Regions from separate parts of the Homo sapiens genome. Here regions 1, 2, 4, 5 and 6 are each linked to region 3. Evidence: promoter capture Hi-C in 16 types of primary human blood cells and fetal thymus (Javierre and others, 2016). All regions are on one chromosome and are shown on one strand. The core of a region is centred on a gene start or on the middle of the fragment in contact, and the rest is flanking DNA. Distances in the headings are between cores, read along the strand shown.

The links. The method cuts DNA at HindIII sites, captures the fragments that hold promoters and counts their contacts. A CHiCAGO score of 5 or more calls a contact.
Region 1: a fragment that was not itself captured here is called in contact with the fragment with the promoter of CNNM2 in region 3 in 3 of 17 cell types (erythroblasts, megakaryocytes and M2 macrophages); the score reaches 9.0 in erythroblasts.
Region 2: a contact is called between a fragment that was not itself captured here and the fragment with the promoter of CNNM2 in region 3, in 1 of 17 cell types (megakaryocytes). The highest score is 5.1, in megakaryocytes.
Region 4: a contact is called between a fragment that was not itself captured here and the fragment with the promoter of CNNM2 in region 3, in 7 of 17 cell types (megakaryocytes, erythroblasts, M2 macrophages and 4 more). The highest score is 11.8, in megakaryocytes.
Region 5: a contact is called between a fragment that was not itself captured here and the fragment with the promoter of CNNM2 in region 3, in 4 of 17 cell types (M1 macrophages, megakaryocytes, erythroblasts and 1 more). The highest score is 7.3, in M1 macrophages.
Region 6: a fragment that was not itself captured here is called in contact with the fragment with the promoter of CNNM2 in region 3 in 15 of 17 cell types (megakaryocytes, erythroblasts, endothelial precursors and 12 more); the score reaches 35.2 in megakaryocytes.

Annotation. Positions count from the first base shown.
Region 1 is chr10:103,118,390-103,121,425 of GRCh38, forward strand. All of the region lies in intron 4 of NT5C2 (5'-nucleotidase, cytosolic II), which reads right to left. Among named protein-coding and RNA genes, the nearest start is that of NT5C2, 73 kb to the right of the region's middle. The HindIII fragment of the contact is 5,128 bases long and covers 1-3,036 here.
Region 2 is chr10:102,677,983-102,680,682 of GRCh38, forward strand. All of the region lies in intron 5 of ARL3 (ARF like GTPase 3), which reads right to left. Among named protein-coding and RNA genes, the nearest start is that of TRIM8, 35 kb to the left of the region's middle. The HindIII fragment of the contact is 329 bases long and covers 1,270-1,598 here.
Region 3 is chr10:102,916,838-102,919,691 of GRCh38, forward strand. CNNM2 (cyclin and CBS domain divalent metal cation transport mediator 2) reads left to right here and starts at 1,457. Exons shown (of 8, transcript NM_017649.5): 1 at 1,457-2,854. The coding sequence starts at 1,644. It overlaps LOC107984265 (a long non-coding RNA gene), which reads right to left and starts at 1,498. Exons shown (of 3, transcript NR_160733.1): 1 at 1,331-1,498. RefSeq lists enhancers at 410-1,096, 1,097-1,783 and silencers at 1,253-1,432, 2,043-2,132. The HindIII fragment of the contact is 7,117 bases long and covers 1-2,854 here.
Region 4 is chr10:103,100,493-103,103,192 of GRCh38, forward strand. NT5C2 (5'-nucleotidase, cytosolic II) reads right to left here. Exons shown (of 19, transcript NM_001351169.2): 7 at 743-834; 8 at 553-610. Among named protein-coding and RNA genes, the nearest start is that of NT5C2, 91 kb to the right of the region's middle. The HindIII fragment of the contact is 6,803 bases long and covers 1-2,700 here.
Region 5 is chr10:103,153,344-103,156,246 of GRCh38, forward strand. All of the region lies in intron 3 of NT5C2 (5'-nucleotidase, cytosolic II), which reads right to left. Among named protein-coding and RNA genes, the nearest start is that of NT5C2, 38 kb to the right of the region's middle. The HindIII fragment of the contact is 746 bases long and covers 937-1,682 here.
Region 6 is chr10:103,057,783-103,060,492 of GRCh38, forward strand. The region is part of intron 4 of CNNM2 (cyclin and CBS domain divalent metal cation transport mediator 2); the gene reads left to right. Among named protein-coding and RNA genes, the nearest start is that of NT5C2, 130 kb to the right of the region's middle. The HindIII fragment of the contact is 1,595 bases long and covers 473-2,067 here.

The DNA of each region.
Region 1 (3,036 bases), core at 37-2,536, 200 kb after region 3:
TCTGTAGCCCAGGCTGAAGTGCAGTGGCACAATCTCAGCTCACTGCAACCTCCGCCTCCCAGGATCAAGCAATTCTCCCACCTCAGCCTCCAGAGTAGCTGGGATTACAGACGTGCACCACGCTCAACTAATTTTTGCATTTTTTGTAGAGATGCGGTTTTGTTATGTTGCTCAGGCTGGTCCTGGACTCCTAGGTGCAAGCAATCCATCTGCCTCGGCCTCCCAAAGTGCTGGCATTAATTACAGGAATAAGCCACCATGCCTGGACAAAATCATCACATTTCATCTTCACAAATCTCCTTTAGGGGTTGAGTCCTTATGATATATTCTGATTAGATTTTTACTTTGTTTAGTTTTATGAATGTTTTCTAATTTATTTTTATTAATTTTATTAACCACAATTATCTTTTTTGTTTGTTTGTTTTTTAAGGGATCATCTCTTTTTGGAGAGGGAATTTTTTTTTTCTTTTTATCTGTTACCCTAGTTTAAATACTCAGCTTATTCTCTTATTCTACCCTATTTGTGGGGGAGGGCAAGAGTCCAAAAACTCTTAAGAAAAAAGATCACTAAGGGAGATCATGAATGCATTTTTAAGATGTAGTAAGTCAAACTACATCTATTTTTCTGTTCTTTAATTTTCAGTTGTATGCTTTTGATCCATTCACAAACTGATAAATCTCTCAAGAATAAGTCAGAGGGCCGGGCACAGTGGCTCACACCTGTAATCCCAGTACTTTGGGAAGCCAAGATGGGTGGATCACCTGAGATGGGGAGTTCAAGACCAGCCTGACCAACATGGAGAAACCCCATCTCTACTAAAAATACAAAATTAGCCAGGCATGGTGGCACATGCCTGAAATCCCAGCTACTCAGGAGGCTGAGGCAGGAGAATCATTTGAATCCAGGAGGCAGAGGTTGCGGTGAGCTGAGATCGCGCCATTGTACTCCAGCCTGGGCAACAAGAGCAAAATTTTGTCTCCAAAAAAAAGTCAGAGGGTATATACAGGTTGGTAGCTTTCACTGACTTAGAAGTGCTCATTCCCTCACACAAATATCTCTTGCACATATAATCTGGAAGCCAGTGGGATGAGGTAATGCACAAGTTCTATATTTTCCAAGTTGTGAGGAGGATGCCCTGAGTATTATTTCATGACCTAGGACAATGAGAATTTCTTTGGTCTTTTTGATAAAGGTTACCTTTCTTGTTTTGTACCAAAGACTTTTCAACAAATACATTCCTTTCAGAGACCTCTCGTCACAGTAAGAACTCCAAATAGATGCAACCAGTTTACACGCTATCAATAGTAAGTTCAGCTCAGCTAATCTTCCATCTTAATTCATCAAAGAGTTTCATCGTTCTTTAAGAAGAAATGCTAAAGCACAGACTTTTACATTGTCATTGGTTTCATTAAACAAAAAAAAAGGCGTGGCCAGTTGCAGTCTCATGCCTGTAATCCCAGCACTCTGGAAGGCTGAGGCTGGTGGACTGCTTGAGTCCAGGAATTAGAGACCAGCCTGGGCAACATGGTGAAACCCCATTTCTACAAAAAATAAAAAAATTAGCCAGGCATGATGGCACGAGCCTATAGTCCCAGCTACTTGGGAGGCTGAAATGGGAGAATCACTTGAGCCTGGGAGGCAGAGGTTGCAGTGAGCTGAGATCACACCACTGCACTCCAGCCTGGATGACAGTGTGAGACCCTGTTTCAAAAAAAAAAAAGGAAGAAAAGAAAAGAAGTAAACTCAAAATGGATCAAAGACCTAAATGTAGGAGTTAAAACTATAAAACTCTTAGAAGAAAACATGGCAGAAAATCTTCCTTATATTGGATTTGGGAATGATTTCACAGCTATGACAGCAAAAAGCACTGGCAACAAAAGAAAAAAACAGATAAACTGGACTTCAAAATTAAAAACTTTTGTGCCTCAAAAGCCATGATCAAGAGAGGGAAAAGAAAACCCACAGAATGAGAGACAATATTTGCAAATTGTGTATCTGATGAGGGATTAATATCCAGAATATATAAAGATTAATATGCAGAATGTGTAACTCCACAGTTATTTTAAAAACCTAATTTTAAAAAACTGATATTTCTCCAAAGAAGTTATATAACTGACTAAATAAACACATGAAATGATGCTTAATATCACCAGCCATTAGAGAAACATGAAATCAAAACCATAAGATACCGTAACTTCACACCCAGTAGAATGAGTATTATCAAACAACAACAAAAAACCTGAAAATAAGTATTGCCAAGATGTGAAGAAACTGGAACTCTCATTCATGTATTGCTGGTGGGGATGTAAGATGTTACAGCCACTATAGAGAACAGTTTGGCAGTTCTTTAAAAAGCTAAACATAGATTTACGTTATGATCCAGCAATTCCATTCCTGGGTATATACCCAAAACAACTGAAAGCAGGAAGCAGGAACTCAAACAGATGCTTAAATACCAATGTTCACAGCAGCCTATTCATAATAGCCAAAAGGTGGAGACAATCCCCATGTCCATCAACAGATGAACAGATAAACAAATGTATATACCTACAGTAGAATATTATTCAGTCTCAAAAAGTAATATATGCTATAACATGGACAAATTTAAAAAATATGCTAAAAGAAATAAGCCAGACACAAAACAAGTATTGTATAATTTCACTTTTATGAAATACCTATAACAGACAAATTCATAGAGACAAAATAAATTAGAGGTTACTAGCAACTGAGGGGTGGAGGGAATGGGGAGTTATTGCTTAATGGGTATGGAGTTTCTGTTTGGGATGATGAAAAAGTTCTGGAAATGGATAGTGGTGAGCATTGTGCAACTTTGTGAATGTGCTTAATGCCATTGAATTGTATACTTGAAAATGGTTTAAAATGGTAATATTATATTCTATATATTTTACCATAAATTTTTTTAATGCTGGACTTGAGATGCCTGTAGTGACAATACACCAATACTGCATAATATTTCTTGCTTTAAATAGTTTTTCTCACTCATTTAAGCACCTCCAATGCCAGTAAGTTTGGTG
Region 2 (2,700 bases), core at 184-2,683, 240 kb before region 3:
CACCCTTGGCCATTCGGAACATTAATCCCATAAACAATACATCACTGCAAAAAAACAACCAGCAGGCATCCTCTCTCCTGGCTCATCTGACCGTCACCTGAATTTACAGTGATTACAACTCTGCCAGTTGCTGTCAGTGCACTTGGGCAGCAGAACTAGATAATCTGACGGCTGTCCCAGAGCCGACATCTGACCTTTGCCAAGATGAGGCCGGTGGCGCCGAAAGCCCGAAGGTGGACAGCACCTGGCAGCAGCAGGGGGAAGGGCAGAGGAATGCCGAGGTGGGAGAAATGAGGACTCCAAACGCATCTCTAATTACAATGGGGTCAGCTACTTACTCTGAGAAGCTAAGGCCAATTTTAAGACCATTTTATGAAAAGGATTAATTTAAAGAGAAGCATGTTTAATTTTAGTAGCTAATTGGTTTCCAGGAAAAAAAAAAGATCACCTGTCAAGAGACAAAAAAGATTTTACAAATAAAAGAGGGATGAATAAGATAAGCATCTTCTCTCGCCTGGGAAGCTGAATAGCTCAGCACTTACATAGCACTTTCCACCTTCAGGGGCTCACACAAACACTCAAAGGTGGGCACCTCAACACTCTCTCCTCTACGGAGGCTCGCACTCAAACCATCTTCTCAGAGAAATCAAGGACAGTGTGCCCACACTATGTGAATAGCGCTTTGCCTTTTCCTTGCTTTATGGCTGATTAAGGAGAGATTATTGCATATAACTGAACATGAATGCAGGCAAAGAGATAGGAAAAATATTTACTCAGCTGCAGGAGCCCAAAGCAGAAGGTGGAGGGTGTGGGGTGGTTTTATGCCGGGTCTCTGTTATGGAGGCAAAGGAGGGTTCAAACGGCAGAGCCCTGCTGAGGGACAGTGTCTGGTGTCTCCAGGTGCCTGTGAGGGCCAGCAGTGGTGAAGCCCTTCTAGCCACTGTCCTGCCAACAGAGGGCGCACAGAGGCCAGTCCCTGCCAGCTGACCCCCGGCCTGGGCCCCTGCAGCTGCCGCTGCAACCCTGAGTGTGGGAAGCACAGGGAGCGTAAACAGGGGACCGAGCCCTGTGGCTGCCCTGGGCCCGGGAGGCCCCTCTAATCTGAAGCGGCTAGTGCTTGGGGAGTGGCATCTTTCTTGTGCTGGGCAGAAGAGAACTGGGCTGGAGGTGGGAGGGGAGGGAAGGGGAGGCATTGGCCAACAATGGTACCTCCTCAATCACGTGGCCATGGATCTAGCTGGGGCAAGCTTTGTCAATCACATCAGGGCAAGCTTTGTCAAGCTGCCTCCTGGAAAGGAAAGGCAATGGTGGTGCCCAAGCTCCCCTAGGGGAGGCTCCCATCAGACTTGCTGGAGATTATATTCCCAGAACCTAACATGATGTCTAGCCCACAGCCCACTTAATTCACATCTTTTAAGTCAATCCTTGTAGAAGCCTGCAAAGTAGGTGCTGGTGTTATTTCTCTATCACAGCTGAGGAGATGAAGGCACAGGACAGAGCAGGGCAATGGCAAGCTGTGGTGCCCAGCGTGGTGCTCCAGAGCTGCTTACCAGTTCTCCACGGATGTGGGTACCTGCCGGGTGAAGGGTTCTGCCCCAAGCTTAAAGAGGAGCTGGGAAGCACCCTGAAGATGGGAAAAGGAGGAATTCTGGTTTTATCCTCCTTGTGACTTCCGCTAAAAACAGGGGCCTGAGACTGGAGTAGCCCCAGCCAAGCCTCCCTGCAGCTCCGATAGTGCCAGAGGTTGTTATGGGCCATTCAGTTCTCAAGATTCCTGGGCTGTGGGTATCTGTATATGCAGAGGCCTGGTTATCTGCCTGGCTGCACAATCCTCACATATTAACCATCCACCCAGACCACCTCCTCCAGTGGAAATGCTACATTTAGAGAAAACATACTTGCAAGAGGAGGAACCTTCTGCTTCTTATGTTTAAATAAATGTTCCATACCACTCTTGCTTTCACCTGGCAAGGAAGGCTTTTTTTTTGAGACGGAGTCTTGCTCTGTCGCCCAGGCTGGAGTGCAGTGGCATGATCTCGACTCGCTGCAAGCTCCGCCTCATGCCATTCTCCTGCCTCAGCCTCCCAAGTAGCTGGGACTACAGGCGCCCGCCACCATGCCCGACTAATATTTTTGTATTTTTAGTAGAGACAGCGTTTCACCATGTTAGCCAGGATGGTCTCGATCTCCTGATCTTGTGATCCACCCACCTCAGTCTCCCAAAGTGCTGGGATTACAGGCGTGAGCCACTGCACCTGGCCGAATCTTTATTGTTAAAAACTGGTTTGACCAATTTTCTGTACATTTGATCTTCATTATGGGGATGACGATCTTACGGTATGAATAGTCCTCCCTTCCTTCCTTCCCTGGACCCTCCCCTGACCAATCTTGCTGAAACTGAATTTGAATTGATTAGCTTCAATTCAATAACAGAGACTAAAGAGAGACATGGAATTTCAAATACTGAGCTTTGTTTGGCCTCCTAGAGAGGAAATAAAGTTTCCTATGTCACAATATTATTCTCCCCTATAACCACTGGGAGAAACAGCAGGCCACCCCTAAGCATACAGGGGAAACTCACTCCTCCCAAATCTCTGCATCCCAGAAGTTAAGGTGCACTGCTTCTTTCCAAGGGAAGAGTGGTCTCTGACTATGCTGCTCTCTTAAATTTGATCTCTGTACATTGCATCCATCACTGCT
Region 3 (2,854 bases), core at 207-2,706:
AGGTAGAGAAACATTAAACATTTTGAATGTTTTAAGTTTCTTTTTTTTCTTTTTTTTTTTTTGATACGGAGTCTCCCTGTGTCACCCAGGCTGGAGTGCAGTGGCGCGATCTCGGCTCACTGCAAGCTCCGCCTCCCGGGTTCACGCCATTCTCCTGCCTCAGCCTCTCCGAGTAGCTGGGACTACAGGCGCCCGCCACCATGCCCGGTTAATTTTTTGTATTTTTAGTAGAGACGGGGTTTCACCGTGGTCTACGATCTCCTGACCTCATGCTCCGCCCGCCTCGGCCTCCCAAAGTACTGGGATTACAAGCGTGAGCCACCAACGCCCGGCCTGAATGTTTTAAGTTTCAAGGAAAAGACCAATTTGGCAGCTACTCTGCTACCTCGTCACCTCCAGGTGACGTTGGGAGTACTGGGGAGCTAGGTTTCCAGAACTTTTTGCTCTTGAGTGACCTAAGACCCTAGCAGAGTTTGGTCAGTGTGATTAAGAATGAGCCTCTGTGGGTCTGTTTAGGATGCTTGCCCCCTCCCATTTCCTTAACTTGCCTGAATTCCTGCTGGGAATACAGATTCGGGGCCCTTCCCACTCTGTAAATATGGGAAAAGGTCTAGGAAGTATATACTCCTAGCAATAATATGTAGGGGTTCTATGACTAGGAAATTTGGGGAACTGTCCCCCTGACCGCTCCATCCGTAACTTCTGCACACCTTTTGGGGTACGCCGCCGACCTGGAAAGCGTTGCAGGGCGCTCATGCTGCCCGCAGGTGGCGCCACGTGATCGCGAGCCGCAGAGAGCCCGTACCCTAGGAGTCTCGAGGCGCGAGGACTGCTGGTCCGCAGCTGTGCCGGGGCCACCGACGCCGCTTACCCCGGCGGAGCGCCGCGCAGGTGGAGTTGGGGACAGCGGCCGGTGCCCCGGCTTTTTAGGCTGTGTGCATCCCAAGCCGCCTCTAGTTGGCTTCTCGGGCTTCCGGGGCAGGAGGGCGCGCGGCTTTGTGCCTACGAATTGAGAACTGGAGAGCCAGTAACCGGTGCACCGGGAACCTGCCGCCTTGCGCCGCAGGGCTTTAGTCCAAACCTGGCCGGTCCAGGCTCCGGGATCTACTACAGGGGCCCCTGGGGAGCGCGGGCCCCAGGGACGGCTCCTTCCCATTGGCAGCAGGACGGATGCCACGCCCCTTTTTCTTCAGCTCTCATCTTTGACTGGCTCTCGAGTCCCAGATGGCCACGCCCCCTCCCCTCGCACATACACAAGAGTCACGCGCCTTTCAGTTGGAAACTTGGCGTGCAGACGGGGACGGTGGCTCTCGTCGCCCCACCCACTTACCTTGCCATTGGTCCGCGGAGCGGCACACGGTCACGCCCCCATTCCAGCCCCCTGGCTGGGAGGGCGGGCACCCGCTTGTGATTGGCTGGTCGGCCTGCCTCTCGCGGGAGCAGCCGGCGCTCCTCTCCCTCCCTCTTTCCCTCCCGCGAGCCTCGGGGTTCCTCAGCTGGCTGAGGTGGAGTCAGTGTCAGTCAGGGAGGCGAACTGCTGAGCACTGGCCGCGGACGCTCCGTTGCAGTCTCGCCCAGGGGCCGGTACCTGCGCTCGCGCCGCCGGGTTGAAAGGATGAAGCCGCAGCTGGAGCAGCCACCCTATGATTGGCTGTGGCGCTTGTGAACCCAAAGTAAAGATGGCGGGCGGGCAGGCAGCCGCCGCACTGCCCACTTGGAAGATGGCGGCGCGCCGCAGCCTCAGCGCTCGCGGCCGGGGGATCCTGCAGGCGGCTGCGGGGCGGCTGCTGCCGCTGCTCCTGCTGAGCTGCTGCTGCGGTGCGGGCGGCTGCGCAGCGGTGGGCGAGAATGAGGAGACGGTGATCATCGGGCTGCGACTGGAGGACACGAACGACGTGTCGTTCATGGAAGGGGGGGCGCTGCGGGTGAGCGAACGGACCCGGGTCAAGCTGCGGGTGTACGGGCAGAACATCAATAACGAGACGTGGTCCCGCATCGCCTTCACCGAGCACGAGCGGCGGCGCCACAGCCCGGGGGAGCGCGGGCTGGGGGGCCCCGCGCCGCCAGAGCCGGACAGCGGCCCCCAGCGATGCGGCATCCGCACCTCAGACATCATCATCTTGCCCCACATCATTCTCAACCGCCGCACCTCGGGCATCATCGAGATCGAGATCAAACCGCTACGCAAGATGGAGAAGAGCAAGTCCTATTACCTGTGCACGTCGCTCTCCACGCCCGCCCTGGGCGCCGGCGGCTCGGGGTCCACGGGTGGCGCCGTCGGGGGCAAGGGTGGCTCGGGGGTGGCCGGGCTCCCGCCGCCCCCGTGGGCCGAGACCACCTGGATTTACCACGACGGCGAGGACACCAAGATGATCGTAGGCGAAGAGAAGAAGTTCCTGCTGCCCTTCTGGCTGCAGGTGATCTTCATTTCGCTGCTGCTGTGCCTGTCGGGCATGTTCAGCGGCCTCAACCTGGGGCTCATGGCCCTGGACCCGATGGAGCTGCGCATCGTGCAGAACTGCGGCACGGAGAAGGAGAAGAATTACGCCAAGCGCATCGAGCCGGTGCGCAGGCAGGGCAACTACCTGCTGTGCTCACTGCTGCTGGGCAACGTGCTGGTCAACACCACGCTCACCATCCTGCTCGACGACATCGCCGGCTCGGGCCTCGTGGCCGTGGTAGTCTCCACCATCGGTATCGTCATCTTCGGAGAGATCGTGCCCCAGGCCATCTGCTCCCGGCATGGCCTGGCTGTGGGGGCCAACACCATCTTCCTCACCAAGTTTTTCATGATGATGACCTTCCCCGCTTCCTACCCGGTCAGCAAGCTGCTGGACTGCGTCCTGGGCCAGGA
Region 4 (2,700 bases), core at 12-2,511, 180 kb after region 3:
TAGCCAACTCTGGTATATAGATGGCTAAACTTTCAGTATTGGCTATATAATTCTCCCTAAAGGGAGAGGATAACTTGTTTAAGACTTACGCAAAATTTTACTTCTGATAAGATACACAGTATTTATTCCTTAATCAAATCTTGCCTGGCCTGGGAATGAAATTAAATTACCATCCCTGAATGGCTCCTGGGTAGCTGCTGTGAAATGAGTTGGGGGGTTTTAGTGTAATTCTGCTTGGACAGATAATCATCACACAAACCTCCCACTCAGTTGTCACAATTAGCACCTCTGCTGGCCGTCTTCATTCCCAGGAGAAGCCAATCAGAAGTGGTGGCTGCAGCACACTGGCAAGGAGAGGGGCCGTGTGGGAGGTGAGAGCCTGCATGGAGCTGCTGGTGCTGTCCCATCTCTCAGGTTGGCAATGTGGCATCTCTCACTAGCACTAAATTCACTTTAGAAAAGCAGAAAAGACCTACAATGGCCAGTTCTCTAAAACCCTGTGCATTAATTTTAAAAATCAATTGGAAAAAAATAATTATAGTATATACATACCTGGTATATCTGGGACAATTAGTAAAAAAATCTACTAGGCAGGCCAACAGGTAGGTCTCTGAAAAATGAAGAACAGATATTCATAAGCTATAATGAAATAATTCAAACTTATTTCATTACCTCCCTTGAATACAGACTAATGGTCACAGAAGGGAAAGCATCAGTATAAATAAGCATAGAATGAATCTACCTGGTAGGTTGAATAGTGTGTTCAGAATGTAAAATCTTTCAGTATCATCTCGCTGGATAAATTTATTTGGATACTGTTCTCTAGTTTCTGGTCTGAAAGAAAAATTTAAAAATTAACTGATTTTTAAAATAACATTATAATAATTGGGAAATAGCATTATTCAAAAATTAACTCAAATATTTTGATGGCTATGTGCAAGACAGAATTCCGAATATTACGCATGGATAGCTATGAAGATGAACGAGTTCAGGTTCCAGCTCTTTATTTTTTTTAATTTTAATTTTTTTTTTTTTTTAAGACAGTCTTGCTATTTTAAGTCCAGGCTGGACTCAAACTCCTGAAGATTGCTCAAGCAATCTTCCCACCTCAGCCTCCCAAGTAGCTGGGATTACAGGTGTGATGTCCAGCTTAGGTTCCAGCTCTTAAAAGAGTTGTCAGTGTGGTGGGCGAGGTGGGTCACATACACATATAATTATAAGGTAAAAAATCACAACTACTACAAGAAAGGTGCAAACATTTATGAGAAAACCAAAGAAGGGAACACCATTTCAACTTAAGAGGTAGAGAGAAGCAAATGTGAGGACTAAGGAGAGGAAAATCTAGGAAGGATTCATGCACGTGCTGGTATATGAGCTGGGCCTTAAAGGCTAGGTGGACCAGTTGTGAAACTAGTCCAACTTGGGTAGAGAAAGGGGAGCAGAGAAAAATTAAGCTAGAAAGATGGGTTGAGGCAGATTAAGCTACTGTTTCTACACCATTTAGGGGCAAGAGGGTACTACTGACAGTTTTAAAGCAGAGGATAATCCCATCGGGGCTGAGTTGTAAAACAAAATTAAATTAGTGGCTGTTTTAGGATAAACTGGGGAAAGACAATGTGATGCACTCCAACAATGGCCACAAATTCTTCCTGTCTCTTTGTGATGCAATTTTGTGGCTCCTCCCATTAGAACTCAGTCTATTTCTCTATCCTTGAATATAGGCTTGTATAGCAGCAAATGGGATCCAAGCAGAGACCTAGAAAAACATGTGTGTATTGAGGCTTAATCTCTCTTGCAGCACTTGGAACCATGGACTACTATGTGCATGACAGTGAGATAGTCTGCTGGAGGATAGAAGGCTACATGTAGAAATGAAGCACTCGGCCAACAGCCTGTGAATGCCAGACATGTGCATGAGGCCATTGTAGATCAGATGCCAGGTCACCCACCAGCTAACCACAGACATGTGAAAGAGCATAGAGAGATCAGCTGTGCAACCCAGAATCACCCAGTTGACTCTCAGAATTTTTTCTTTTTTCTTTTTTTTTTTTTGAGACAGAGTCTCACTCTGTCGGCCAGGCTGGAGTGCAGTGGCGTGATCTCAGCTCACTCATATATTCAAGAGAGATTACCAAGGTAAAATAAGACCCGGCAAACTGAGCAGATTTGGCTGGGGGAACATTAAAGAGTCAAAGATGATGATGTCCATGCTAAGGTGTCTCTGAGAGGTGGTTGGTACGATGAACAGAAATATGAAAACTAGATAAGAAGTGATGTGAGAGTAGTTCTATTTTAGTGATACTAAGTTTGAAGTAAACTGATTTTTATTAGGCAATTAGAAACAAAGGTCAAGAACTTAAAAGAGATTCAGCCTTGAGAGATAACTGAGATCATCTACGTACAGATACTAGATGGAATCATGAAAAGTATTAGAGGAGATGAAACCACTTAGTGTGCAGAGAAGGAAGAGAAGAGACAGAACAGAACCATGAAGAAAATTCAAGGTTTAAAAGAAAAAAGCCAGTGAAGCAGAATTTGTTAAAGATGCAAAAACACTTCTAGAAGAAAACATTTCAGAGAAACTCAAAGGGAAAAATACTAAAATATAAAAATGCACAGTTCTGACAGTGAATACATGGAGATTAACAATGTAAATAAAGGAAATCAAATTTAAAGCTCACACTCAGAGTGACCTGGATT
Region 5 (2,903 bases), core at 60-2,559, 240 kb after region 3:
AACAAACAAGCTTCACTGATCTCTTGAGAACTGTAGCTCATTTGTTAAAGCACAGAGAACTCAGGCCCTGAGAGGCCCAACAAATTTGGGCACAATGCCGAACCCTAACTAGGCAATATCTCAGTGACCAATATCCTCAGCTTTAAATACTTGAAAACTTAAGAATAATTTTTTTAAAAATTTCAAGACTAGGAAAAATAACTAATGGCCTGAACTGTTTAAGGCTGGCCAGTTAAGGAAGGAGACAATCCAAATGGCAAGTTCCTGTAAGAGACAGGAATCGTTACTGGCAAACACAGAAAAAGCAAATTTACCCCCTAATGAGGCCCTCCAACAGTACGCAAACAATGTGAGTTTCACAGAATCAAGCAGCCCTGGTCGGTCAAAATCATTTTTAGTTTACTCTGGGAGCAAAAAACACAGGATAAATAATTTTATGTTTTAATTATTAGTGTAGTTATTTCCTCCCTCAGAAAATAAACAATGTGAATTACAAGAGAAGGAAGTATGTGCAGATCATATTACAGGAGGAACCTAAAGTATTTCCACAGCGAGGTATTTTTTTTTCTGACTTCATTAACTGCTTTTAAACAAAACATCTGCGTTCACAAATATTTCACTTAATCGCCTGAAAATTTCAGCTCATGTGAAAAGATATTTACAGATCTTTGGCATATGGGGGATAAATCCAGAACATTCTAAAGGTTAATTCCAAATCTCAGAGCAAACTGAGCTTTGAAAAAAAAGAATCTGTAACATTCCTGCCTCCCGACCAATATAATGCATAGGGATTATGCAACAGGGGAAGAAATAAATAAGTCTGCTAAAGTCTAAGAACATTGAGATGGCAAATCCTCCTCACGGTGATTCAAATTAAAAATAAAATACATATACCTTAAAGAACTACTACTTGAATTAAGGCTTAAAATTTTTAAAAGCTTTATCCCTTTAAATATTACCTAAATATCTTACCATAAAGGTTTCTTTTTGTTATTAAAATGTTTAAATAGTTACTAAGTAATTAAAAGCACTACTAAATACTATAAATTCAAAATAAAATTAAGGGATAAAAGACTTTAAGGTAGAAAAAATAAAAAAGAAAAAACAAAAGAAAATTATTTTCAGTTTATTTAGAAAAGCAGTATGGTGTAATGGAAAGAGAATGGGCACTAGAAGAACTAAGGCTTAAATTCCAGCTCCTCCACTTTCTGGCTTTGGAACTTTGAATAAGTTACTTAACCTAAGCCTGAGCGTTTTAATCTATAAAAGGGAAGATAACATCTGGTAGGGATGTTGTCTGTCACATGTAAGCGCTCCAAGAACTATTACTGAGGGTAGGGGAACAGGAAAAGCAACTGGATTATCAGGCATTGCCTCATTAATATATCTCATGGGAAATACTTTTTTAAAAAATCTAAATCTCAAGTTTTACACAAATATGAAGGATTTCCATTGACTATCCTCAAAGCAAATTCCATAACTACAAGAATACAAATTGAATATGGAAAAATGATCTAATCCTTAAGGGTGCCAACTTCCCATGGATTCCCTAGATTTTCAGCTTGTGGTATCACAGCTCAGTGCAGTGGAAATAAATGTAATTACTATTTTAAGACTTTACTATTGGCAAAGAGAAAGGAAAACAAAAATTATCACTTGAACTGAGGGTACACACTTACAGAAGCTTCCTGTGCAAAAGGTAAGGCATTGTCTAAAGATGATTAGCTCTTTCAAACTCCATGCATACATTAAACAAATATTTACTGAATGTCTGTGTGCCAGATACCAGTGATACAAAGATAAACTTGGAAGTCCTTGATTTTAAGAAGCTAGTGAGAAGGTCCATTCAAAAGTAGCTATGAAGTAGTGTGTTAATAGTAGTATTAGAGATACGCACAACAGAGAGGGACATATAGATCCTCTTGGCTGAGTCTTAGAGATAGGATGAGATACTGTTTTTTAAAAACTGACACTGTGCTAAGCTCTTTATTTATTACCTCATCTAATCTTTGCAATAACTCTATGAGGTAAAGTTATTCCAGTTTAAAAGATTACAAAATTAAAATTTACAAAACTTAAATGCTGGGATTCTAAAGAAATGGAACAATCCAAAATGCCAACCCTAGCCCCAAGCTCTTAATCACCAGGCTAAAAGTATTAGCAGCAGGCTAAGAGGAAAAGAAGAGGTCTCCAACAGAAGAGGAACCATGAACAAAAAGCAAAATGACATAAACATCATGATGTGTGAATAAAAACAAAGCTATGAGCCCGGGAGGTCAAGGCTGCAGTGAGCCATGATCACACCACTGCACTCCAGCCTAGGTGACAGAGCAAGACCCAGTCTCAGAGAAAAAGCAAAGCTAGATACAGTTGACAGAACACAGAATCTGAGGAAGAGAACTGCTCAACACAAAAGTGGACAGAAAAAGATCAGTCTTAGAGAGTCTTGGCGGGGTTAGAATTTATCCTGTTGCATGCTCGATGTGATATCACTAAAGGATCTAAGCAGGATTATAACATTATTTAAAAAATGAATTTGGCCAGGTGCCATGGCTCACACCTGTAATCCCAGCGACTCAGGAAGCTGAACTGGGAGGACTGCTTGAGGCCAAGAGTTTTAGACCAGCATGGGCAACATACAAGATCCTGTCTCTACAAAAAAAAATTTAAAAATTAGCCAGGTATGGTGGCATGCACCTGTAGTCCCAGGTACTTGGGAGGCTGAGGTGTGAGAATTACTTGAGGTCAAGGTGACCACAGTGAGTTATGATCATGCCATTACACTCCAGCCTGAGCAACAGAGTGAGACTCCATCTCTTGAAAAAAAAATTTTTTTGAGGAGGACAAGGCTGAAGGTGGGGAGACCTACGGGGGGATACTGCTGTAATCTAGGACAGCGATAA
Region 6 (2,710 bases), core at 20-2,519, 140 kb after region 3:
ATAGGATAATTACAGCCTCTTACAGCAGAGTAGCTAATTCCTTCTCACTGTAACATAATTCAGTAGATGAGGTGAGAAGGTCAATTCATTCTAAACTTCCTTTGAGTGGCTTTGGTGCTTGGGTTGACAGGAGGCCTTGTTTTATCACAGTTTCACTTAATAGAGCTCTATCCTTGGCATGGAGGCCAAGGTGGATATTAGTCGATAAAATGCTAATGTGGATCAAATGTGTAGATTCAAGCTCGGGAAAGTGTTGTGTTCATGTGTGACCCCATGTTTGGGCAGCATTGTGGTGTTTGGAAGCAGGAGTGAGGAGTAGGAAAATGCCGAGGGTTAGCTGATTACATGTCACATTCTTACAGTCCTTCTTAGAAACTTCTGTTTGCAAGTTTACTAATTTAGTACGCTGATTCATCTTCTAAATTTAGTTTTCCTCAATTGTTTTTTTTCTTTCCTCTTTGGAGATAATGTAAGCTTGTAACTCTGAGTGCACTGTTGGGAATTTAGTTTATTTACTGCAGTGAGGGAATAAAACATTCATGTTTCTCATAAGAGTGAGATGCGAATATTCCTTAAGCCTGGAGAAACTCTGGATACATCAAAGACTGTCACAGGAGGAATTGGAATATTGACATTGTGAATTTTAGTGTTAATATTAGAAACTGTGGTTTTCAGTTGTCTACTTTTATATAGTTAGTGTTTATGAAGTTGTGATTCAGTAATGCTTTATTGCTATATAAGAAAGCCATGGATCTAAAAATCTTATGGAAAAGGGACTTCATAATCTCTGTCCATTTACAAGTAAATCTTTTAAGATATTTTTGATAAGACATCTATGTATATTTACCTGTATTTGTATACCAATTTGTGTTAAATACTTATATAAAGGTGACAAGTTTTTTGAACTGTTAGGCTGATAATGCCATGGGGGTTTTACAAGTAGTGTGTATGTTTGATGAACAGGACTTACGGAGATGTTTGGTGAAAAACCATGATCTTGCAGACAGCCAGTTACCTAAGGTACAAAGAGAAGAGCAAAATGAAACACCCTCACAGCCTCAGTCAATCTGGCATAGCTGCCATCATTAACAAAGCATATTCTACCTAATATGTCACTAAGCCAGCGTTGGAAGTTCATGCCACTTTAGGGAGCATGATCCACTGTGGAGTTTGTTTGTTTTTTTGTTTGTTTTGTTTTTTGTTTGTTTTGAGAGGGAATCTTGCTCTGTCACCCAGGCTAGAGTGCAGTGGTGTGATCTTGGCTCACCGCAACCTCTGCTTCCCAAATTTAAGCAATTCTCCTGCCTCAGGCTCCCAAGTAGTTGGGACTACAGGCGTGCTCCACCACACCCGGCTAATTTTTGTATTTTCAGTCGAGATGGGGTTTCACCTTGTTGGCCAGGCTGGTCTTGAACTCCTGACCTCAAGTGATCCACCTGCCTTAGCCTCCCAAAGCACTGGGATTACAAGCATGAGCCACCGCGTCTGGCCTCCACTGCATTTCAAGAGCACTAAATAAGAAAAAAGCAATAATATCTGCCTTCCCTTCCTGGCCTCAGTGCCAGTGAGATGCTCTCCCTGCAGGAAAAAACCCTTTAAGTAATTGATAGGAATATAATTGTAAATAGAAACACATCATTTTTTAGTTGAAGCCCTAGATAAGATAAATTCCAAATTATTCAAGGAAAATGACCTAAGTAAACAAGAGTATTTTGTAAGTTACCATGTACATACCTCCCACTACATATGCATAAAAAAGCCAAAACTTCAAGTTTTATCTGTAAAAGTAGATTTTTACACCAAAATGCATTTCAGAAGCAATAAAGACAGTTAAAAGCACAGTAAATCATGGAAAAAACTTTATTGGCTCTACATGCTTTAAATAACTTAACAAAATACGTATGTAAGAAATAGGAACATGATTTTGGTGGAAGTGTTTTTCCACCATCATAGAAGATCAGGCATACTAAAAAAAAAAGTCATAGTTTTAAACTGAATACCTTGTAAAATAGAATTAACAGATTTGGAGGAAATTAAACATAATCAAGAGAAATATACTTTCGAAAAAGCTTATGTGGGCTGGGTGTGGTAGCTCATGCCTGTAATCCCAGAACTTTGGGAGGTCAAGATAGGATCGTTTGAGGCCAGAAGTTTATCAGCCTGGGCTACAGAGCAAGATCCCCTTCTCTACAAAAAATTTTTTAAAAATTAGCCGGGTTTGGTGACAGGTACCTACAGTCCCAGCTGCTCAGGAGGCTGAGGCAGGATTGCTTAAGCCCAGGTGTTGGAGGCTGCAGTGAGCTGTGATTGTGCCACTGTACTCCAGCCTGGGCGACAGAGTGAGCATGTCTCAATAAAAAAGCTATGTGACTCATAAAAATTGATCATTTATCATGTTACAGTGTACATGCTAGTAAATACAAAAAGATAGAAATTTCATGAAACTACCTGAATCGATGATAATGAAATAAAATTCGAAATAAAAAATACATAAAAGTGCTGGGCATGGTGGCTCACGCCTGTAATCCCAGAACTTTGGGAGGTTGAGGCGGGCAGATCACTTGAGTCCAGGAGTTCAAGACCAGCCTGGGCAATGTGGTGAAACCCTGTCTTTACAAAAATACAAACATCAGCTAGGAGTGGTGGCAGCTACTCAGGAGGCTGAGGTGGGAGAATCACTTGAGCCTGGGAGGCAGAGATTGCAGTGAGC